Linked DNA regions of Homo sapiens: all the other regions are linked to region 2. Evidence: promoter capture Hi-C in 16 types of primary human blood cells and fetal thymus (Javierre and others, 2016). All regions are on one chromosome and are shown on one strand. The core of a region is centred on a gene start or on the middle of the fragment in contact, and the rest is flanking DNA. Distances in the headings are between cores, read along the strand shown.

What was found. Contacts are between HindIII fragments. The CHiCAGO score rates a contact against its expected background, and 5 or more counts as called.
Region 1: a contact is called between a fragment that was not itself captured here and the fragment with the promoter of EBAG9 in region 2, in 1 of 17 cell types (total CD4 T cells). The highest score is 5.9, in total CD4 T cells.
Region 3: a contact is called between the fragment with the promoter of MED30 here and the fragment with the promoter of EBAG9 in region 2, in 1 of 17 cell types (activated CD4 T cells). The highest score is 9.5, in activated CD4 T cells.
Region 4: a contact is called between a fragment that was not itself captured here and the fragment with the promoter of EBAG9 in region 2, in 2 of 17 cell types (non-activated CD4 T cells and total CD4 T cells). The highest score is 5.8, in non-activated CD4 T cells.
Region 5: a fragment that was not itself captured here is called in contact with the fragment with the promoter of EBAG9 in region 2 in 1 of 17 cell types (naive CD8 T cells); the score reaches 5.4 in naive CD8 T cells.

Annotation. Positions count from the first base shown.
Region 1 is chr8:116,770,994-116,775,642 of GRCh38, forward strand. It overlaps UTP23 (UTP23 small subunit processome component), which reads left to right. Exons shown (of 3, transcript NM_032334.3): 3 at 463-3,691. The coding sequence ends at 849. Among named protein-coding and RNA genes, the nearest start is that of UTP23, 6.8 kb to the left of the region's middle. The HindIII fragment of the contact is 7,781 bases long and covers 1-4,649 here.
Region 2 is chr8:109,536,887-109,541,764 of GRCh38, forward strand. EBAG9 (estrogen receptor binding site associated antigen 9) reads left to right here and starts at 3,287. Exons shown (of 7, transcript NM_004215.5): 1 at 3,287-3,575. EBAG9UORF reads left to right here and starts at 2,840. Exons shown (of 1, transcript NM_001436381.1): 1 at 2,840-2,914. The coding sequence starts at 2,840. The coding sequence ends at 2,914. PKHD1L1 (PKHD1 like 1) reads left to right here. Exons shown (of 78, transcript NM_177531.6): 78 at 1-321. RefSeq lists a silencer at 2,686-3,235 and an enhancer at 3,296-3,655. The HindIII fragment of the contact is 10,757 bases long and covers 744-4,878 here.
Region 3 is chr8:117,518,503-117,522,897 of GRCh38, forward strand. MED30 (mediator complex subunit 30) reads left to right here and starts at 2,211. Exons shown (of 4, transcript NM_080651.4): 1 at 2,211-2,551. The coding sequence starts at 2,375. It overlaps LOC105375716 (a long non-coding RNA gene), which reads right to left and starts at 2,218. Exons shown (of 7, transcript XR_928569.3): 1 at 2,052-2,218; 2 at 537-675. The HindIII fragment of the contact is 1,953 bases long and covers 1,853-3,805 here.
Region 4 is chr8:116,868,392-116,872,914 of GRCh38, forward strand. The region is part of intron 1 of RAD21 (RAD21 cohesin complex component); the gene reads right to left. Among named protein-coding and RNA genes, the nearest start is that of RAD21-AS1, 3.8 kb to the right of the region's middle. The HindIII fragment of the contact is 1,678 bases long and covers 2,354-4,031 here.
Region 5 is chr8:116,753,737-116,758,094 of GRCh38, forward strand. It overlaps EIF3H (eukaryotic translation initiation factor 3 subunit H), which reads right to left and starts at 2,087. Exons shown (of 8, transcript NM_003756.3): 1 at 1,930-2,087. The coding sequence starts at 2,061. The HindIII fragment of the contact is 4,157 bases long and covers 1-3,812 here.

The sequences.
Region 1 (4,649 bases), core at 1,422-3,921, 7.2 Mb after region 2:
ACTTTTGGGGGTGATATTAAGTTCACATACATACAGATTTGATTATCAGAATTATAAAATTACACAGAGGTAGAGCTGAATTTAGAATCTGAGTAGCTAATTACTACCCAGTTTCTTTTCCTTTAACCTCTTTAAGCATTCTTGACCCTTTCCAAAGAATATCTTAGAGTGGAAACAGGAGAAACCCACCTAACACATTTACCTTTGCATTAGTTTGTAATTTGTGGCTCTAGAGTATCGATAAATCCGGTTCACACAGCTGCTACTAACACTGTGCTCAGTTTTTATGTTTTTCTTCCTTTATCATGAAATATACCCCCATTACTCAAATGAATAAGTGAGGCTTACTCATTTGAAAAATAAAATCTGTGATCTCTTTTATTTTTAATACAGTTCTTGAAAACCTATTTAAGGTACCTTAATTGACATTTGAACTAAATAATTCTGTTTTCTTTTAAATAGGATCAGAATTTGTCTGTGAAAGTAAAAAAGAAGCCTGGAGTTCCTCTCATGTTTATTATTCAGAACACTATGGTTTTGGACAAACCTTCTCCCAAAACAATTGCCTTTGTAAAAGCAGTGGAGTCAGGTCAGCTTGTCTCAGTGCATGAGAAAGAAAGTATCAAACATCTCAAAGAGGAACAGGGTTTAGTGAAAAACACTGAACAGAGTAGAAGAAAAAAGCGCAAGAAAATAAGTGGTCCCAATCCTCTTAGTTGTTTGAAGAAAAAGAAAAAGGCACCGGACACACAATCATCTGCTTCTGAAAAGAAAAGAAAAAGAAAAAGAATTCGGAACAGATCTAACCCAAAAGTACTTTCTGAGAAGCAGAATGCAGAAGGAGAATGAATCCTTTGGATACTTTCAAGGACATTCAAATGTGAAAATGAATTTTTTACAACTAGAAGTATTTATAATAAAAGACCAAACTTATTTTTGTAAATGAACCCATATGCTTTAGCTAAAATTAATTATAAAATAAAAACAGTGACCAGTCTAGCCAGCATGGCAAAACCCCATCTCTACTAAAATACAAAAATTAGCTGGGCATGATGGTGCACAGTTGTAATTCCAGCTACTCAGGAGGCTGAGGCATGAGAATCGCTTGAACCTGGGAGGCAGAGATTGCAGTGAGCCCAGTTCGTGTCACTTCACTCCAGCCTGGGCAACAGAGTGAGAACATGTCTCAAAAAAAAAATAAAAACAGTGAATGGGTGTAGGTGTGATGGAATTCACTTTACTTACTAAATGGTTTCGGGAGGTTGTTTCTCCAGGTAAAATTGTCGCCTCTCTGGTCCCATTCCCACCTTCAAACATTATATGCAAACAGTTTTAAAAAATCTTACAGTTCTAAAAGGCTTGTGACAAAAAAAGAGGCAGTCCCTCTTTCACATTGACAGAAGAAACTTCCTCTTTCAATTCTAGTAGTTGAAGAATTTATATTTCCAAATTGTATGATTATACCGCTACTTTTTGATACATCAATTATTTATTGACTTCCTACTAGAAAGAGTGAAATTTTGCCCATTTATACTGCACCATTTTTCCAGTATATGAATATTTTACTCTTTGTACATCAGAAACTCAGTATTTTCATTATTATGACTAGAGTTTTTTTGTTTGTTTGTTTGAGTTCTACTTGTCCAATAAGGATGATGATTTTCTTTTAGATGTAAATGTTAACTTCAATAGCAAGAATTCAAAAATAATATTCTCTTTGAGATTGACTGTGAATGTTATTGAAAAGTGTCTAAATTAGTCTGAGGATCAATGAGGGTCAATTCAGTTAGGAATTGAATAATGAAACGTGTCTCTCTGAATTCCCCCGGCAATTGTTTTAGTCATTTATCAGGCCAAAATTAAAATGTTTTTGTACTACAAGATGGAAGTATAAAATTATTGGACAAGTGAAATCGTATCAGTAGTTCCTGACTGACAGCTTCTGGAGCCACACTAGAGCAGTGATTCTCAGTCTAACATTAGGTTATCATGATGACGTATGAGTAAATTCTTAATGGTTAAATGTGAGACAGTTCACATTTATTCCCATAGAAATGTCATTCTCATTTGAATTCAGAGATACTTCTTTGCTGGAAGTTGGAATTATAGCTTTACACCAAGGAGTGACACGTAGACTAATCTGGCAAGCCAAGGTAGTGTTTGGATTGCAATGTCATGATTCTATTTTAAATTCTTGATGGTAGAAACATTTTTAATAAGGAAGGTAAAAATACTGGAAAAAAGTGAATAGTGTAGGTTTTGTGAGGAAAGTTAACATTTGTCAATGACAAGCATTAAGGCCACCTAATAAAGTGTAGACAAAGTGATAAATGAAATATACACTGATGATACTCATTTCAATATGCTAAAATACATTAAATTTAGGTATTACTCTTAATCTATTTCTACTTAGTCAGTGCTATCTGATTACCTGTTAATAGCATCTGAACTGGAGAGCTGGAAAAATCCACTTTTTTATGAAGCAGTAATTATAGAAGTACTAAAAATTACAATGTATTAGTAAGTTTAATATTTTGACAGGGCATGGTGGCTCACACCTGTAATCCCAGCACTTTGGGAGGCCGAGGCTGGCAGATCACAAAATTAAGAGATCAAGACCATCCTGGCCAACATGGTGAAACCCTGTCTGTACTAAAAATACAAAAATTAGCTGGGTGTGGTGGTGTGCGCCTGTAGTCCCAGCTACTCGGGAGGCTGAGGCAGGAGAATCGCTTGAACCCAGGAGGCGGAGGTTGCAGTGAGCCAAGATCATGCCACTGCACTCCAGCCTGGTGAGAGAGTGAAACCCCGTCTCAAAAATAAATAAATAAATAAGTTTACTATTTTAAAACTGGTTAATCATTTATGTATTTTGCCAGTAAAATTACTTTAAAAGATATTTTAACAAAAGTCTCATATCCTTGTACTTCAGTTTTTTTGTGTGTGAATACTATCCCTATACCACTACCCCTAAAACCTCAGAATTATTTGCTTTATTTTTTCATACAACTTGGGGAAGGGAACCATGGGAGTATGCACATGGGATCATAATCCATTCTGTGGTTTGGAAAAAGAAAATGTTAACCTCTGCTTTAGAGGGTAGCTACTAGCTTTGTTGGGGATAAAAGTGTAATACATGCACTTTTGAACTCTGAAAGTTTGCCAATCTGAAAAGGGGTGTTTCTGAAGACCACTATCTTTTACGAACACTTAAAAATAAGTGTTTGCAGTTGTGTATGGGCACGATACTGTATTCTTTACATTTTTATGGCCCTACAGCTACTTCTTATCCCTGCAAGTATATAAATTAAAACCAAGTCACTTTAGAACAGCTTTGAAACTAGAGTTTCAAAGGTAAAAGGATCTCATGTTTCTGAATCTGCGTAAAGCAAGATGGCTGTGATTTGACAGGTTTAATTGCTAGTTTTTTATAGGTGGATAGAAATGAATAGTTTGGAGTCTTTAAAATGTTTTAAAAAATGTTTGCTTACTATCTATATATATGACATTATTCCCAATTAGTTTTATATCTCCAAGATATATATATGTATATAGGTATATACACATATGTATATATACATAGTCTATATATTCTATATAAGAATATATTCCAATAAGAATATATTCCATACGGGAATATATTAGTCATTGATGTATTTTGCCGGTAAAATTAAAAGATATTTTAACAAAAGTCTCATCTCCTTGTACTTCAGTTTTTGTTTTTTTTTGTTTTTGTTTTTGTTTTGTGAATACTATCCCCATACCTATATTCCATACAGGAATATAGTCTATATATTCCATATAAGGATATATTCTATATATTCCATTTAATATATTCTATAAAAATATATATTCCATATAAGAATATAGAATGTATAATACACGAATTTGTACTGAGTAGAATGTGTCAATACATATTTGTTGAATGAATGAAAATGAAGGCCAAGTGTGGTGGCTTATGTCTGTAATCCCAACATTTTGGTAGGCCAAGGTAGTAGGATCACTTGAGCACAGGAGTTTGAGACCAGCCTTGGCAACATAGGGAGATCTCATCTCTACAAATAATCGAAAAATTGCCAGGTGTGGTGGCATGTGCCTGTGGTCCTAACTACATGGGAGGGTGAGGTGGGAGGATCACTTGAGCCTGGGAGGTTGACATTGTAGTGAGTCTTGATCATGTCACTGCACTACAGCCTGGGCGACAGAGCAAGACCCTGTCTCAACAAACCAACAAAAAAGTAAATGAAATAACGTCAGGTCTACCAGAAGGGAGAGTCATGACTCATCCAATTTCCAGACTAAAATAGTTCAAGGGCCAGAACTCCTTAATTTAAGGGGACGCTGGGTTCTCTTGAGAAAGAATCCAGTATATAAAAATTACAGTATATACTTGTAGCAGTGCTTCAAGTCCCCTTTCCCAAAGGGACCTGTGGCCACTTTCTAGAGGGACTGTGAATTGGGGAATAGAAATACTCAGACCTTTGGGAATATTTCTGGTTCTGAATTGATGCTAGTTGCTAGGGTCTCAAAATGCTACTGGACCACCATTTAGAGTAGGAGTTTATGGTGGTGAAGTGACAGAAAAATTGAGTTTTAGGTCAAATTTGAGTCCAGTGAGCTCAGTAGGTACTTGAGCCCATCCTGTTTAT
Region 2 (4,878 bases), core at 2,037-4,536:
CAGACTGTTTGATTTCTCTATTAGGCAATTGACCCTAACTAGTATATGGTGATTTTGAGTATTAAAAAAGAAGTTATAATTTTCCAGAATATTAATGTTTATTATTTTGAAAGCAAGTAAAATTCTCCAGTAGGAAGATTAATAAAACAATTCATTAAAATTCTCATCAGAAAATCCTATGCTTTCAAATGTATCTGCTCAAAGATGTCACTCTATGTGCGGCAAAGCTTTGTTTTACTTGATCAAGAAATGAATGTGACTTTATGATCTTGTATTCAACTGTGAACAGCTGCTCATTAATAAAAAGCCATTAAAGTCCAAGTCAGAACAGCAGGTCTAAAATTGTGTTTGAGGGAAAAAAAACCCACCCTTTGATGAAAAGCCAGGGAACTGGGTTGGGAAAGATCTGGAAGCAGAGGGCTGTGTTTGCAGTCTGCTCCTACCTCCTGGGCCAGGTCAGGTGACAAGGCCAGAGTTAGCCCCAGCTGGAGAAGTCAGAACAAAGCCTATGTAGGCTTTGAAAGGGGAGAGTAAGTGGTGGGCTGGAGGTTGATAGTGTGAATAAATCAAGCTGGTAATTGGGCAGAGGCTGATCAGAAGCGTTAAAGTGAGCAAAATGGTTTGGACACAGAGCAGACAGAATTTACTATATTCCATTGAGTAAAAGAAATTCATATGCCAGGTTCTATCCCTTATGTTCCTCCCATTTGACATCTGGTGGTTTCCTACCCCCGTCCCACACAAGCTTTGGGGAGAGGACAGGACTTAAAGTTCCCTGTTCCCAAGAGGTGGTCCCTAAACCCAATCCCAAATTATTGACTTGTGATCCCAATTATGGGCTTACTATTTAACAAGTAAAGATGATTTTAAAATATTATTTTATAGGTATTACTAAAGTAAATTTTAAATTTGCAGTCTTTAGCGAGCTTTGTTTTCTGTTTTGCTATTGTGTTGGGAAACAAGTACTCAGTAACTAGCTGTTTCTGGAAAAGTATATACATTTCGTTTTGTTTCATTTGGAAATGGCAAATTTAATAAAGAAAACTGAAGAATCAGGAAAAAGAAGAAAATATCCTTGGGCATAATAAATTGTCTAAAGCAATCAACTCTTTAAGAAAAAAAATTTAAACACGTTTATATCCGAATATAGGTTATTTTGGATTTTTTTTTTTTTTTTTTTTGAGTCAGGGTCCTGCTCTGTCTCCCAGGCTGGAGTGCAGGGCCCAATCATGGCTCACTGTAGTCTCGACCTCCCAGGCTCAGGTGATTCTTCCCACCTCAGCCTTCTGAGTAGCTGGGACTACAGGCATGCGCCACCAAACCTGGCTAATTTTTAAATTATTTGTAGAAACGGAGTTTCGCCCGTTGCCTGGGCTGGTCTTAAATTCCTGGGCTCAAGCGTTCCTCCTGCCTCGGCCTCCCAAAGTGCTGAGATTACAGGCATGAGTTACCGTGCCCAGCTAGATAACTCGATTTTTTAAATCCAAAAAAAATTTAGAAATTTTATATTGAAATTTAGGCATTAGAATTCTAGAGATTAAAGTTAGAGCAGGTGTTTAAGGGACTGAAAGGGGTTGCATGGCCTTTGGGAAATGCAATTACCGGAAATGATACTGTAGTAATGCAATAGTAATGCAGTAGTAGTAGTAGCTGCAGCAACAACTGTTATCTATGAATGTTTGCTATGTGCCAGGCTCTGTGCTAAGAGAGCTTTGCAAGCATTACTACTGCATGAAGTAGGCACTATTATGGCCATTTTACTGATGAGGAAATTGAGGTGAACAGATTAAATAATTTTACCCAACTTTACACAGAACCATTCCAGAGCACGAGCCATAAACACATCTTTCCCGTCTTGGAAATTAAATTATTAATAAAAAACGTGGTGCAAATTGGAAAGAGGACGGTTGTGGTAGATTATCACAAAGTTAAGTGGGTAGGTGGTTGCTGGGTCAGGGTGGGAGAACAAAGGCAGCTGTAATAAAAAAAAAAATTAAAGGCATATAAAGAAAAAGGCTTGTTGAGAACAATTTGCATAAACTGATTTTGGCCTTAGACCCTATTCACTTCTCCCTCACCAGTCACTTTGCAACTGTGGAGCATAGTATTCTGAGGGTCCCCTGCACATAACAACCCCTTTCATAGCATACAAGATAAAAAGAAGAATCAGGCTGCAAAGAGAGAAGCACTGAAGGAAAGAACATCTCAGGTTGAAAGAAGGGCAAGTCCAGGGTGCATGTGAGGAACAAATGCATGGACACGGTGAAGTGCCACTTCTTCATTTCTAGTTCAACACAATTCAATTAAAAATTACTGGGAGGAGGCTACGTCTTGAATTAAACTCAGCATTCCACATCTTTGAGGTGGCGGAATGACTGAGGGGAGGGGGTCTGTCTAGCCACATCCAAATCTTCCTGAGACAGAGGGAGATCCCTCATTTGTTGCAGTGTATTTTCCTTGGTCGCATCTGACACAGGGGTTCTGTGGGTTGAACAGAAAGGGACTTTGCTGGAGGGGAGGCACTCTGCATAGAAGGAAAGTAGGGACATCTGGCAGAAGCAGGCGCTCCGAGAATAAACAGTCAAAGCAGCTCGCAATAGTCCCAAAAAGCTACCCCTCACCGAACCTGGCGTGCCTGTCGCCGCTTGCCCCGCTCCCAGGGCTCATTGGCTCCCAGTCTCGACGTCAGACCCGTAGCCTCTCACCTATTGGGCCAGCCAGGACCTGAGGCGGAGTGCAGAAGCGAGGGCCTGGAGACAGCCGAGAGCCGCCTTCAAGGAGGGCTGGGGGCGGGGCTAGAGGAGGGGCTGGGGGCGGGTTTCCCGATGAAGGGGCGGCCATGGCAGCTGCGCAGAGGCAACGCAGGCTGCTACGGAGCGCGCGCCCGGCTTTGAATGAGCGGGGCTGGGAGTGAGCGGGCGGAGCGCGAGCTCGAGGAAGAGACAGGCAGCGCGCGTGAGCGCGCCTTGTGTGCGCGCGCGGCCCGCGGCAGCTCGGAGCCTCCGCCGGGCGGGCGGGGAGGGGGAGGGGCAGGTGAGTGTGTGCGGTTCGCGCGTGCCTGGGAGGGGCTTTCCTCTCCCTACCCCCATCCCGACCCCAGCCCTAGCCTCTGGGGCATTGTCTGCCCTTCGCCGTCGGCCCTCCGCCTAGCCGCGCACTTCCCGCCCTCCCACCTTCCTTTCGCCCTTCCACCAGACCTCCCTCGACGCCCGACAGCTGCTCTGGGTACTGTTTCCGGGTCAGGGTGACCTCTGGGGTGAGGAAACTGCGACTGGGAGCGGGACCCAGGCGTGCAGCATTCGCCATGCTCCGCTCACGCGTGGGAGACTGGGCTGTGGGGTACCGGCCCGGAAAGCACGCAGCCTCCAAAGCCGCCTTCCTCAGGGAAATTTGCGTGACCTTACTGCCCTCCGTCTACAGGCCTTGTACCTCTCCAGGCCGATTTTTCCACAATTTAAATCTCAGTTCACCTGGTATCCAGCTCCAGCAACTTAGAGCGTTTCACGTCACGCCGGGCGCCAGGCGTCGGCTTGTATAACCTGAAAACGCTCCTGTTTTTCTCATCTGTGCAGTGGGTATGATTTTTTTTTCATCAACAAATTTCACGTGGGTAATCTGAAATGAAACCACTTAAGTTATGAAACTCTTTCCTTTTGAGTTATTCTGGAGACCTTACTCCGCCTTCGGAACCGCCCCAGTGGTGTCACATACTTGAGGGCCTGACTCTCGGTTGCCAGACATGGCACAGAATGTTCGATTTTACTACCAGCTCTCACACTCCGCTTCTGTTTCCCCTTCTCTTACGGGCCGCTGCTCAAACCTTTATTTATCAAATTTAAGTGAGTTCAGGTAAATTTTATTTTGGGAGCTTTGTAATATTTTCTAACCCACTTCAGAGAGTTATAGTTTGAGGATATTCTGGACTGTACTAGATCATATGGTTTTCAAATTTTGGTATGAAAAGATTCGTAAATAGAGTTTTAGAAATACAGCACCTGTTTAGTATGTACCGAACATAGATTTTGGCTTTGCTTGTTTTGTGAATTGTGATGTATTGAGGCTACTTGAAAGGACCTCTAGCAGTTTACCGAGAATTTCAACAAGAAAAGATATAATACATTTGATCTATCAGTTTCTAATGTAGCATTCTTTTTTTAATTGTATTTTTTTTCCGTTAACATGGCAGAGCTCTCATTCTTGATTTCCTAGAGTTGTCATTTCTTCAAAAAGCCTTAATGAGGATACATTGCCTCATAGTTTTGAATCTCATTCTGATATACCTCAAATTTTTGTCTTTGTAATTTTTAAGGAAATTTAATGTTAAGATTAGATTATATTAACATTGTTCCGTTCTAGAAAGTGTTTTAAAGCAACTAAAGTGTAAAGTAGCGTAAGATACTTATCAAATTGGTGATCTAGAGGGCATTTCAAAAATCGCACTGAGGCAATGTGCACACAATTAAAAGGTTTCTTAAGTAGGATATGATGTAGGGAGAGCCTTGGGCTTTCGGGTCAGTCCCTTTAAATCCTGGGTAAGTGAATCTAAGTCTGTCAACCTCATCTATTAAACGGGAGTAGTGAAAAACCTACCTCTTTTGGTTGTCCTTAGGATTCCAGTGAGGTGATCGAACATTGTCTTGAGCGTTCAAGTGCTCAAGGAATGTTAGTTTCCTTCCATTCAACAAATATTTGAGTACCTACTATGTGCCCGGCTTTGACTGAGACCTATAAATACCAGAATGAGCAAGACTGATGGACGTCCTGCCTCCTTAGTTTCTTGCATTCCTCAGGGATAAGTTTATGGGCAAGCTCATGACAACTGGGAGTGAACGCAGAGTTTCCCCATGCGGAGTTGGTAGTATTTCCCAGCTTCCAAAT
Region 3 (4,395 bases), core at 961-3,460, 8.0 Mb after region 2:
TAAAATCTGGAAAAGACAAGGAAACAGATTCCTTCTGAGAGCCCCCAGAAGGGAACACAGCCCGCCAACACCTTGAGCGTAGTTCAGCGAGAACAATTTCAGACTTCTGAGCTAAAAAGCTATAAAATAATAAAAGGTGTGCTGTTTTAAGCCACAAAGTTTGTGGTAATTTGTTACATGTGCAATAGGAAATTAACATAAGGCATAATTTCTCGGAAACTTATTTTTTCTTCAGTGTATCCTGTCTTGGTAAATGACATAAACTTCACCTGAAGTTTCACATGAAAGCAGAAATACGTGCCATCCTTAATTCTTTCCTCTCCTTAATGTTCCTGATCCAGTTACTATCAAGTTCTCTAGATTCTACTTACTAAATATTTATTCAAAGTTACCCTCTGTCTCCTTTCTCTGCACAGGTCATGATCATCATCATCATTCCCCTTTGGGAGAGAAGACAATAGAAACCCACCATCTGTTCCCCATTTAGCAACCAGAATAAGTGTTCTAAAATGAATATTTCAAATTATTCCTCTCACCTTGAAACTCTTCAATGGCTTGCTATTTCACTCCATAAATTCTCAACTGCTTGACATGGGTTAGAAGATCCTCCAGGGTTGCCTCTGTCTTCAGCCTTATTTCCTAACACTCGTCCTCACACTGAACTTCTTCCAGATCCTAGAAAGCATTAGGAGGCCTCTTCACTTCAGGTGTTGGCACTGGCCTTCCTCGTCCTCATAGAAAAGACTCTATCATTCGTTACTCCCTTCCCTATCCACCTTCAGGTTCCACACTGCTCCCTTCAGGTCGTTCTCAATCTCCTAAATTGTTAGCACCCTGATATCAGGAACTTTTGCTTCAAGACGCTCATCACAATAGTGTTCTGTTTGTCCCCATGACAAACATGCTGCAGGGCTTTTGCCTGGTTTGTTCAGTACGCTATCTTCACTCCTAGCACCCAGCACATAATAGGTGCTCAGCCAATATTTGTCGAATGGTAATTACCGAAGACCTGCGAATTACTATGTTTAAAATCTCTACCAGGGTTCCTATGACATATTTAGTAACTATTTCCTGGAAAGTCCGTACAATGGAGCATTCAGATACTTCTAAAAAATGCAATGTTTGTGCCTATCACTAATTTTACATTCTTCACTTTTCCCCACTTTGGAGATGAACAGTAAGTGAGAGACATTGTGAGAGACATTTTAATTTCTCTTGCATTTATCATGTCACTCAACAATCATTCAATAAGTATTTATTGATACTTGTGCCAATCACTAGGTGTTGAGAATAAGTGAATAAAATAGTCTGTTTTCATGGAGTTGGCAGTGTGTGTAGATAGGGTGAGATAAAGTCTGAAAGTAAACAAACTGAAAGCTATATAAAATATCAGACAGTAGGCCGGGCGCGGTGGCTTATGCCTGTAATCCCAGCACTTTGGGAGGCCGAGGCGGGCGGATCACGAGGTCAGGAGATCGAGACCATCCCGGCTAACACGGTGAAACCCCGTCTCTACTAAAAATACAAAAAATTTGTCGGGCGTGGTGGCGGGCGCCTGTAGTCCCAGCTACTCGGGAGGCCGAGGCTGGAGAATGGTGTGAACCCGGGAGGCGGAGCTTGCAGTGAGCCGAGGTCGCGCCACTGCACTCCAGCCTGGGTGACAGAGCGAGACTCCATCTCAAAAAGAAAAAGAAAAAAAAATCAGACACTAATAAGAGCCAGAGTCAGAAAGAAGTGTGTGTGTTGATCATTTTTTTTGCTTACAGATACTGGGAAAACTCAAAGAATAAAACATCTGAGCAGGGACCAAGAGCAATCGGGGAGTCCGTATCATGTCACAGAGAAGCGTACAAGCTTAGGAATCTTGTTTTCTGAATTCGAATCGCAGGTTGCCAGTTACACCTGTATGCGACTCAACAAGTACTTTAACCTGTCTCTTAGCTGTTATACTACAAACCTCAGGCTTGTTAAGAGAAAATGCTCCGCAAGGAACTAAACACAGAAGGTTCTAACGCTGAGCCAAGACTGGGAAACGAACTCTGGGAACTCACCCCAGGCTCCCCAAGAACATCGCCCCTCTGGCTGGAGCGCAATTGGTGATTGGCTACTTAACCCGTCCGTCCTTTCCCGCCCAGGGGTCCAATCCAATCCAGCCCGGCTCCGCTCGGAGACAGTTCGCCGAGTGGGCGGTGTCTATGACGTTTTCTGACGTGTTACGTCACAGTGGGCGGAAGTCGCGGCCGCTGTTTTGAAATCGGGCCGCGGGGGGTCTCTCAAGCTGGTTCCAACGCTGAGGCCCCACAGCCTCCCAATTCCGGGCAGACCCCTGACACCTGCTGTCTGGCCCCTTCCGGCCTGAAGCTGCAGCCGCGCCATGTCCACCCCTCCGTTGGCCGCGTCGGGGATGGCGCCCGGGCCCTTCGCCGGGCCCCAGGCTCAGCAGGCCGCCCGGGAAGTCAACACGGCGTCGCTGTGCCGCATCGGGCAGGAGACAGTGCAGGACATCGTGTACCGCACCATGGAGATCTTCCAGCTCCTGAGGAACATGCAGGTAGGAAGGCGGGCGCGCGAGGCCAGGGGGATGCAGCTGGGAGGGAAAGGGCCTCTGGTTTCCTCTTTACGTGGGGCCCGTGGATGTCATCGGGGCTGCCCTGGGCAAACCTTAGGTGTAGGGTCTCCCCCATTCACACTCAAGAGTGTCCCCAAAAGTCGGATTTGTAGAGGTGATGTTTTCCAGACCAGATTTCTGCAGAATTGAAGCCAATTTTTTTTAGATTCAATCGAGCTCTTTAGTTACTCTGTAAACTCTTGCACCTTTCAAGGCAGAGATGGGTCGCACTCCACTTCCCTCTTTAGGTTGCTTTAAATGTTTTTTCCAGCATTTCTTCTGGGGAGGTCCAAGGAGTTGAAGAATTTACATTTTTTTTAAAAAAACAGTCCTCCTTTTTTTGGCATAGTTAATATACAGTAAACTACACTCACCTAAAGTTTTGATATATATGTGTACTGTAGTCTGTATACTTGTGAAATTATCACCACAATCAAAATAGTGTACACATCATCCCAGAAAGTTTCTTCATACCCCTCTGACATCTTTGCTTCCCACCTTCCATCGCTAAGCAACCATTGATCTGCGTTCTGTAATCATAAATTAATTTGCATTTGCTAGGGTTTTATATAAACGGAGTCTACAGTATGTGGGCTTTTTTTTTTGTCTGAGATCCTTCACTAAGAATGCATCAATAATTTCCTTTTTATTGCTGAGTAATGTTCCATTGTATCCATGTATCACCATTTGCCTACCTTTTCTTCTGTTGATGGACATTTGGGTTGTTTCCACTTTTTGGCTGTTGTAAATAATGCTGCTATGAACTTTTGCTGACAAATTTTTGTGTGAACGTATGTGTCATTTCTCTTGGACAGATTCAGGAGTGGAATTGCTGGATCATGCAGTACATGTCTGTTTAATACTTTAAGAAACTTTTCCAAAGTGGCCTGAGCCATTTTACGTCCCGATTATTGCTAGTGGGAATGTAAACATTGCTGTTTGAGGGTTCTAGTTTCTCCTCATCCTCATCAACACCTGTTATGTCTTGATGCTTTCCAAATACTTCTCCCAGTCTATCCTGCCTTTTTATTCTCTTAATACTGTCTTTTGAAGAACAGACATTTTAAATTTTGATGGAATCCAGCTTACTGATTTGTTCTTTTATAGATTTTGGTTTTGCTGTCATACCTAAGAAATCTTTGCCTAACCCAAGGTGACAAAGGGTTTCTGTTTTCTTCTAGAAGTTTTGTACTTTCAAGCTTTATATTTAGGTCTACAACCTATATTTAGTTTTGTGAGTTTTTAAATATGTATACATAGTGGCAGATACGGATCCAAGTTCATTGTTTTGCATTTGGATATCCAGTTGTTCCAGCACCATTTTGCTGACCCATTTTTAATGCTTGCTTATATTACCCACTACATGTAGTAGATATTATTTTTGTTTTACAGATGAAGATTCTGTACTTCAGAGAGATAAAGTGACTTGCCCAAACCTAGTCAGTGGTAGGGTAAATTTGAAACCAAGTTTTCAAAAATCTTACAGCTCTTATTTCTGTGGGTGTCCAAAAAAGTGTTTTATTGCTTTTTTTTTTTTTAACTGGTCAAGACTTTTTTTTTCGTCCTGATTATAAGAGTAATTCAGTTTCGTGGAAATTTTTAAGACCATGTGAAATATAGTACAAAGGAGATCCAGGAGAAATTATGACATTCTTTGGCAATAATTTAAAAAAATGAATAGATTCATATCTAGAATGAATAAAGTACGGATTAAATAATGTCTCAGAATTTAGCATACTTTAAAAAAAATTTTGTCCTGTTATATGCAAAGCACCGAATAATACCTA
Region 4 (4,523 bases), core at 1,943-4,442, 7.3 Mb after region 2:
CACCTATAGAAGGACATTTAGTTGCTTCCAGTTTTTGGCTATTACAAATAAACCTGCTATAAATATTCATGTACAGACTTTTGGTGAACATTAAGTTTTCATTTCTCTAGGACAACTGTCCCGAATGTGACTGCTGACAAGTATTGTTAAGTATATGTTTAGTTTTTAAAGAATCTTTAATACAATTATCAAAATGAGTTTTTTTATATTTATAGGCAAGATTATCAAATTTATATAGAAAAGCAAATAAACTAAAAAAGCTAAAACTATTTTGAAAAATAGTGAGAAAAATTAGTCTATTTGATTTCAAGACTTACTATATAGCTATAATACTCAAGATTGGTATTAGCAGAGGAAACACAGTCAATGTAACAGAACTGAGAACCCAGAAATAGCCCGCACAACTAAGTTCAACTAATTTTTTTTTTTTTTTACAAAGATGCAAAAGCTATCTAATGGAGAAATGATACATTTTTCAACAAATGGTGCTGGAGTGATTAAATACGATCTGAAGACCAGAAAACATGCACGCACGCACGCACACACCCCCCACAAAACAAAAAAGGCAAGGAAAAAACCCTCCACCTAAATCTCACACATTATATAAAAATTCAAAATAGACAAAACTTTTAAAAAATGGCAGAGGGGAACCTTCAGTACCTAAAGCTTGGTAAAAATTTTGACACATCAAAAACACAACCCATGAAGGAAAAGTTCTTGCTCAATAAACTCGCCTTTATCAAATTAAACTTTTGCTCTACGAAAGAAATGCAAAGACAAGCTATAGACTGGGGAAAAAATATTTGTAAACCACACATCTGACTAGAACTCAGATATAGAATATGTAAAGAATTCTTAAAACTTCAGGGGTAAGAAGAAAAAAAAACTCCAATTAGAAAGTAAGCAAAAGAGGCCAGGCAGGCTGGCTCATGCCTGTAAACCCAGCACTTTGGCAGGCCAAGACAGGCAGATCACTTGAGGCCAGGAGTTCAAGACCAGTCAGGACAATTTGGCAAAACCCTGTCTCTACTAAAAAACACAGAAACTGCTACGTGTGGTGGCATGTGCCCGTAATCCCAGCTACTCAGGTGGCTGAGGCAGGAGGATTGCTTGAACCCAGGCTGTGGAGGTTGCAGCGAGCTGAGATCGCGACACTGCATTCTAGCCTGGGTGACACAGCAAGACTCTGTATAAAAAGAAAAAAAAAAGTGAGCCAAAGAAGAGAAATTTCACAGAAGAGGTTTACTGATGACAAATAAGAACATGAGATGTTCAATTATCCTAGGCATTTGAGAAATACAAATTAAGGCCAAAAACATTATCACCACACACTTAATATAAGAGCTAAATTAAAAAATAGTGGCAACATCAAATGCTGAAAGACACAGAGAAGCTGGATCTCTTACACTGCAGGTGGGACTAAAATCTCTTGAATTAGCTTTTCTCTAAAAGATACAGAGTAATTATTTTTCATTTTTTCACAGTCTGTAAATCTTAAAGAATTTTGCTTACTGTACTTTCAATTAAAAATGTGCCAATTCTTTCCCATGATGTAGAGAAAATATATTTTAGTTACGCGTATCACAAGCAACAGATTTCTTACATGTCAAAAATATTTTGGAGGGTGGGGGGCTGTGGTGCAAGACTACTGCAGTCAGGTTTGCTTTATCTCCATTTCCATCACTTAAGAGTAAAGAGTCTTGAAATTCTCATTCTCTGAATCTAATGTTCCCAAAGGATTATTAATTCATACTAAAAAAACTTTTCCTCAAAAGAAAAAAAACCAGGCTTTGTCAACTGTCTAATGTTGTAAACTCTTCCTCCCAAATTTGGAGTTAAGGAAGGAAGAAATTGGCTAGCGGTGGTGGCTCACGCCTGCCATCCCAGCCCTTTGGGAGGCCAAGGTAAGAGGAATGCTTGAGGGCAGGAGTTCCAGACCACCCTGGTCAATATAGCAAGACCCCGTGTTTATTTTTTAAAAAAAAGAAATTAAAGAATGAAGAAATACTATATTCTATACTAAGAACTCAGACAAAATATTCTTAAGGTACGAGCATTAAATAACACCTCAAAGGTGCTTTATTTGCCATTTGTTATTTTATAGATTAAAACATGCTTCCCATACCGGAAGAGAGCCTCCTATGTTTCAAATCAGTGCCTACTTCAAGCCTTAAAATGTTATCACAAAACTTAAGCTGCTCCTACTATGTTATAAATAAAATCTAGAGAACTTTACAGAAATCCAACATAGCAGCATGTTCTGAGAAATATAATCGCTGTTGTACAGGACAAGCCCCAAGTTCCACTATGGAAGCAAGCAACTGTATCCTAAACAAAAAACTCCTTAATATTAAGCTTCTAGAATACTATCTGTGGCATGACAATTACTAAATATGTGCTTAATGAATAAGTAAGTAAGATCCACCAAGTGATCTCATAATTGGCATATGTAAAAAATTTTAGACGTTTTAAAAATTAAAACTACTGGCATTTTTCAACAGGTGTCAGTAGCTCCTGGCCAGCACTTCAGCTGCTGGTCAGAGCACCGTGCCTAAAATATCCCAGCTATGCAGAGGCAGAGATTCCTAAACAGAAGCCTGTTTGGCATAGGATGGGGCTAAGGAAGGCAGAGTGATGCTAAAATTAATGTGGGAAACAATTAGCAAGAGGAAATCACTCTAATAACTAAAGGAAGCCAAAGGAGCAGTGGTGGATCGACTCCTGGTGTATATCTGAATAAGGAGAAAGTGTAATTATAATTGCCTTTTAAGCCTATTTTTTTTTCCTTGATAATACCAAACTTCATCCAATCTTTAAAAAAGTCGATTAATCTGTTTAGATTTTGAAGATTCTATATTCTGCTAAATCCTTTATGAAAACCCTGTGCAGAAAATCTGCATTTGATACCAGAGCACAACTTAGCATTTCATGATTTGAGAATCATTTTTTTCTAAAGCGGCAAGCAGTTTTTTTCAATTGACCCTAAAAAATTAAAGTCTGATGTGAAACAGCAGAAAGATTGCTATTTTAGAACATATTCAAGAATACAAAAAATGGCAATTTAAGACTGTTTCAAAGAATCAAACTGAGGCTCATGCTTCTAGGATAGTATCAGTCATTACCAATATTTCACTCATTAGAAAGCATGGCAGGACTGCGGTTGTGTAAATTGGTACTGTCCTCTCTGAAGGACAATATGACAACATTTTATAAAAATTTCACTTACACTTTCTAGCCAGAACTTGCACTTTCAGTAATCAATACAAAAGATATACTTGGAGATGCATATTACTAAAGACAAAACCAAAAAACCAAACACGAAAAAATCCTAAGAAAACTTACTAAGCACTACGTGTTTTATGTATCCAACCTCTTCATGACTGTCCTACAGAAGTAAATTACTGGCCCATTTTAGAGATGGAGAAAACAGATGAAGATAAGTAAATGTCACTAGTATTTAATGGAAGTGGAACTTGAACTTCAGAATCCACACTTCTAACTACAACACTATGCTGCCTTGCCAGAGCAGAACAGAACATTCGAAATAACCTACTTGGCCATCAATAAGTGATATGAAAAATTAATAAACCCAAACAACGGAATATAGTCGGTCCTCCTTATCCATGGCTTCTTGCATCCATGGACTAAACCAACCCAGGATCAAAAATTGTTGGAGGGGGGGACAAAAAAACACAATAATAAAAAATACTACTAATAAAAAACTATAACAACTATATTAACTATTAACATAGCATTTACATTGTAATATCATAAATGGAGATGATTTGAAGTATATGGGATGTTAGTAGGTTATATGCAAATACTACACTATTTCATATAAGCGACTTGAGCATTCGTGGTTTTGGTTCTGGAACCAATTCCCCTTTAATATCAAGGGACAATTGTACAGTACAACTTTAAACAAGAATACAACATTTGTACTAACATGGAAAATCTCCAGGTTAAGTGCAAAAAAGTTGGAGTTTTAAAAAAGAATGCTCTTTCTCTATATATTTACGAGTTCTTGAATAAGCTTAAAATACCTGTGGCGTACACATGAAACTGGTGATACTGGTTACCTCTGGAAAGTAGGTATGCAGGGCAAGTGAGGCCTACCTTTTTGTACTGTTTGATATATATATATACATACACACACACACACACACACACACACATATTTTAACTCGGGACATAAATGTACACCACCTATTCAAAGTAAAAACTACTATCTCAGAAGTAAAGACATAATCCTGCTATTGTCATTAACTAGCAGTTAAGCTGCCTAACCTTTATGCAGTTCAGTTTCCCTACTATGAAAACCTGAAAGGTTGAAATCTGGTGGTTTACCTAACCTTTGAAAACGTCAATACCTAACTCAGATCAGAACGGAGCTACCTCTTCAGGGGAGTAGGGGGAAGGATCTCTGAAGATATTTCTAACCCTGCACACTAGAAATCTCCTCTGTTTTGGTTCTAACATCCTTTGACCAAGAGTTTTACAATCAGACAGTCGTAGGTTCAAAT
Region 5 (4,358 bases), core at 484-2,983, 7.2 Mb after region 2:
TTGTTACTGAAGTGCTTTTACCACTGCCCTGTGTTAGATAGTATTTGGCACTTAACAGAATGTCCTAAAATATTTGCTAAATAAATGATCTCCAAATAGATTTATGCCACCGACCTGTTGCCTTTTTCAACTCTGGAAACTAAGTGATTCAAAGAGTGCTGTTGTGACATAGCAAATTTAATAAGAAATATGTTTCTAAGAAATAAACATTTCCCAAGTGCATAAGTGGTACTTATTTTAACAAGTGTAATCTAAGTCCACCCACTAACTTTAGAGATTTGCAATCTCTAAAGATACGTCATTTATTCCTGAACACACATCTGCCTCCCATGAGCCAGGGAAAGCCACAGTGCCAGTACACAGGCCAGATAGTACTCCATTTTCTTTTTTTTTTTTGGACGGAGGCTCGCTCTATTGCCCAGGCTGGAGTGCAGTGGCACAATCTCGGCTCACTGCAACCTCCGCCTCCCAGGTTCAAGCGATTCTCCCGCCTCAGCCTCCTGAGTAGCTGAGATTACAGGCGCGTGCCAACATGCCCGGCTAATTTTGTGTTTTTAGTAGAGACGGGGTTTCACCATGTTGGTCAGGCTGGTCTCGAACTCCTGACCTCCTGATCCGCCCGCCTCGGCCTCCCAAAGTGCTGGGATTACAGCCGTGAGCCACCACGCCCGGCCTGCATTTTCAAAGTATTACACAAGTGACATTTAGAACAAAACATTCCAAAGTTAATCTCTTGCCTGCATCTTTCAAACTCTGCTAACCACAGACATTAAACTCATAATAATAATCATAATTAACATTAAGTGATTACACTGTACTACAGGTCACCACATAAACTTTTTCATTTAATCCAAACAACTCTATGATACAGATACTTCTCATTCCCACTTGACAGATGAGGAAAGCAAAGCCTGGAAAGGCTAACTTGCCTTAAAGTCACAGAGCTGGTTAAGTGGAAGAGCCTAGAAGACTGAATGAGCTCTTAACCACCAGGCTACACTCTTGTATCCAGTTTAACTAAGTCAGTTCAACAGATTCAATTATATGCTGCGTTTAAATTATCAACAGTTTCCACTTAAAAATACCTGCTTGCAATTACAATTTTCACATGAATTTAAAAGTACTTTCTTATTACAAATATCTAAGATCTGCATTAATAGGAAATAACCTTTAAAAAAATCAAAGGAAGAGAGGATGCTTTTTAAAAAGAGGGCAGGAAGGATACTTTTAAAACTAGAACGTCATATAAATGCATTTTGCTTCGAAACAACAGAAATAAAATTTCTCATTCTAGATTTTCCTCTTCCCAGCTAAGTCCATTTCCTTATCAAGAATTTCCTTGGATGTCCTAGTTCATGAACCTTAACTACTAAATACATTTAAGGCCCTTCTCTTTGATATTCTTTTATGTTTTTCAGAATGAACACTACAAAAGAGTATTCTAAATTATACGGTTTCAGATAAAGCGCCGAAGTACAGGCTCAAAAGAGTGGCTACAAAGTACATCTCCACTTGGAACGTTATAGATGTCAGATCCCAGCAGGGAATCAGTGGAGTTTCCTTACTCTCTCCTTCCCAGAGCCCTACTAGGTCCCTAAATCCTTCTCGACACCTTCGTTAGCTGCTGGTCTCCAGGAGTCTTTCTTCAAATCCCCCCACCGGTCATCTCAAAACAAGACCCCAGGAACCTGTCACTCACACCCCTATTCTCAGTCCCCTTCCTGAAGCCCCAACTGTCCCGTTAGAAGACAAGAGAAGGCTGTCGAAGCTCCTGAACAAAAAGTGAAGATGAAAGAGAAACGTACTAGGGAAAAACTTTGGCCCAGCCACACCAAGCCCAAGGGGGAGAATGCTAGAAAGTACGTCTGGTGGGACGGGGCTGGGAACTGCGCTCCCCACGTGGGCCAGAGGAAAAAGAACAGCACTCACAAGGCCATCTATCTGCACTTGCTTCACGGCTGAATCTCCCGAGCCGCCTTTGCCTTTGCCTTTCCCTGCTGCGCCGGCGGTGGAGCTGGAAGAGGTGGCAGTAGAGCCGGTACCTTCCTTGCGGGACGCCATCTTTCCAAGCAGACAGGAAGAAAGAGAAACGTGAGTTACCGGAAGCGGAAGTACAAGTCTCGCGTGACGTCACTCGCAGGCCGGCGTTCGAGGGGCGGAGACGGAAGGAGAAGCCAAAATTGGGCCCCGCCTCCCTCCTGTTTTCCAGTTTTACCTTCTTTCCAGGCGGTATCCTTTGTGCATGCCTACTGTACATTTTCGACCTCTTTCCGATGGAATGATCTAAGATGAAAGTAAACTTTTTAAATGTTTAATCATTCACCACTAGGCAAACCGTCATAATAGCATTACAGTTCGCATTATTTCTGTAGTGTCTCTTATGTAAAAATGCTTTCATTTCTGATCTTGCAATGAAGTGCTGTACTAACTCGCATTATGCATATTAGAAAACTGATAAGTGATTTGTCCGACATTATTCTGTTAATTAGCGATGAGCCAGTATTGCACAGCTTGTTTTACGTAATTTTAGATAGCTGCTTGTAACCACTTAGATTATATAGAAATTAAGACATAGAAACTTTTATCAGAATTACCAGAAATAGTAGCCTTTTGCTATTAGCTTCATGTAGAGATTTACCTGAGTAAAGTACCAAAGAAGTTATCTGAGGTATTGTTGAAGGATGATACAGAATATATTTTCTAAAAATCACGCTGATTTATGACACATTACTCTGAAATACACATCTCAAGTCCTTAAAAGAATATATGACAACTGTAAGAAGCCATTTTAGATAAGTAATTTGAAACATTCTTTTCTACTTCCAAATGACTTTTTTCCTATCCCTTATTTTTGAAATGTTTATTCAATAAATATGTATACAGAACTGATGAAATAATTAAATCAATAAACGGCATATCCTGCCCTGAAGTTTTTTGTTGTTTTGTCATTGGGATCTGGTGTTATATTTCAATCTGGGAGGAGAAATAGTTACATGTTACAAATTCTTAACACTACAAAATGAAAAGTTAATATCCACTCATTTCAAGTGTATATGAAATATTTATTAAAATACACCAAACCCTAGGTCACACAGAAAGTCCACAAATTTAGAGGTTTTAAAGGTTGATCCTGGTAAAATTACACTAGAAATTGGTAACAGAACATTCACAAAAAGAAGAAAGAAAATCTCGCATGGAAGAACCAGACTGGAGGTTTTTGCCTACCACTAGGTAGCTGGAATGATGAGCATTAGAAAACAGTGAGGCTACTTATAAACAATAATACATTTATTTATTGCTTTATCCTACAACATACATAACACAGTTTTGTTTCAGAATTACAATACCAATATCCTCATAGCAGTAAAACTACAAAGTAAAGTTTAAAATATTTTGCAATTTTTTTGTCCTTGAAAATATCCAACTAAGGTTTTGCAGCCACGTGTGCTAAACATACTACAATGGGTTATTTTCATCTGTCCTGAGACAGTTCATGTGGGCCCTCTTTATGAAATACACTAGATGTAAGAGGTACAACTGAGAGAGAGAGAGAGAGAGGGCCAGAGAATATGAAGAATTTGAATTAGAAATCAATATGATCACCTTGACAAGAAAGGGCCCAGAAGCATTGACATTTCCGTCACTTCGGTTCCTAATTTCATTCCTATCTCACTGGCTACCTCCTTTATTCTCAGTTCCCATTGCTGATTTTTCTACCCCTTTTCAACCTTTAAATATTGAAGAGCACCAAATTTAGACTTTGAACATCTTCTTTCCCCTATTTTTGTTCTCTTTTATGGTGACCTCATCCAAGCTTTACAAAGAGATACACTCAAAATAATGTAAATAAATCAATATATTATTTAAAATGTTCAAATAACCCAGAAGAATGAAGAAAAAGAAAAGAGAGAAATGAAAACAGAGAGAATGAATAAAAAATAACTTAAATGGCAATCTTAAGCCCAAATATATTAATAGTTATGTTAATTTTTTTTTTTTTTTTGAGACAGAGTCTCCCTGTGTCACCCAGGCTGGAGTGCAATGGTGTGATCTTGGCTCACTGCAACCTCCGCCTCCCAGGTTCAAGCGATTCTCTCGCCTCAGCCTCTTGAGTAGCTAGGATTTCAGGCACCCACCACCCTGTCCAGCTAATTTTTGTATTTTTAGTAAAGACGGGGTTTTGCCATGTTGGCCAGGCTGGTTTCGAACGCCTCACCTCAGGTGATCCGCCCGCCTCAGCTTCCCAAAGTGCTGGGATTATAGGCGTGAGCCACCGCACCTAGCCAATATAAATGTTTTAAATATACCAATTAAAGGAAAACAATTGGATGAATGAATAAACGGATAAAAACATGATC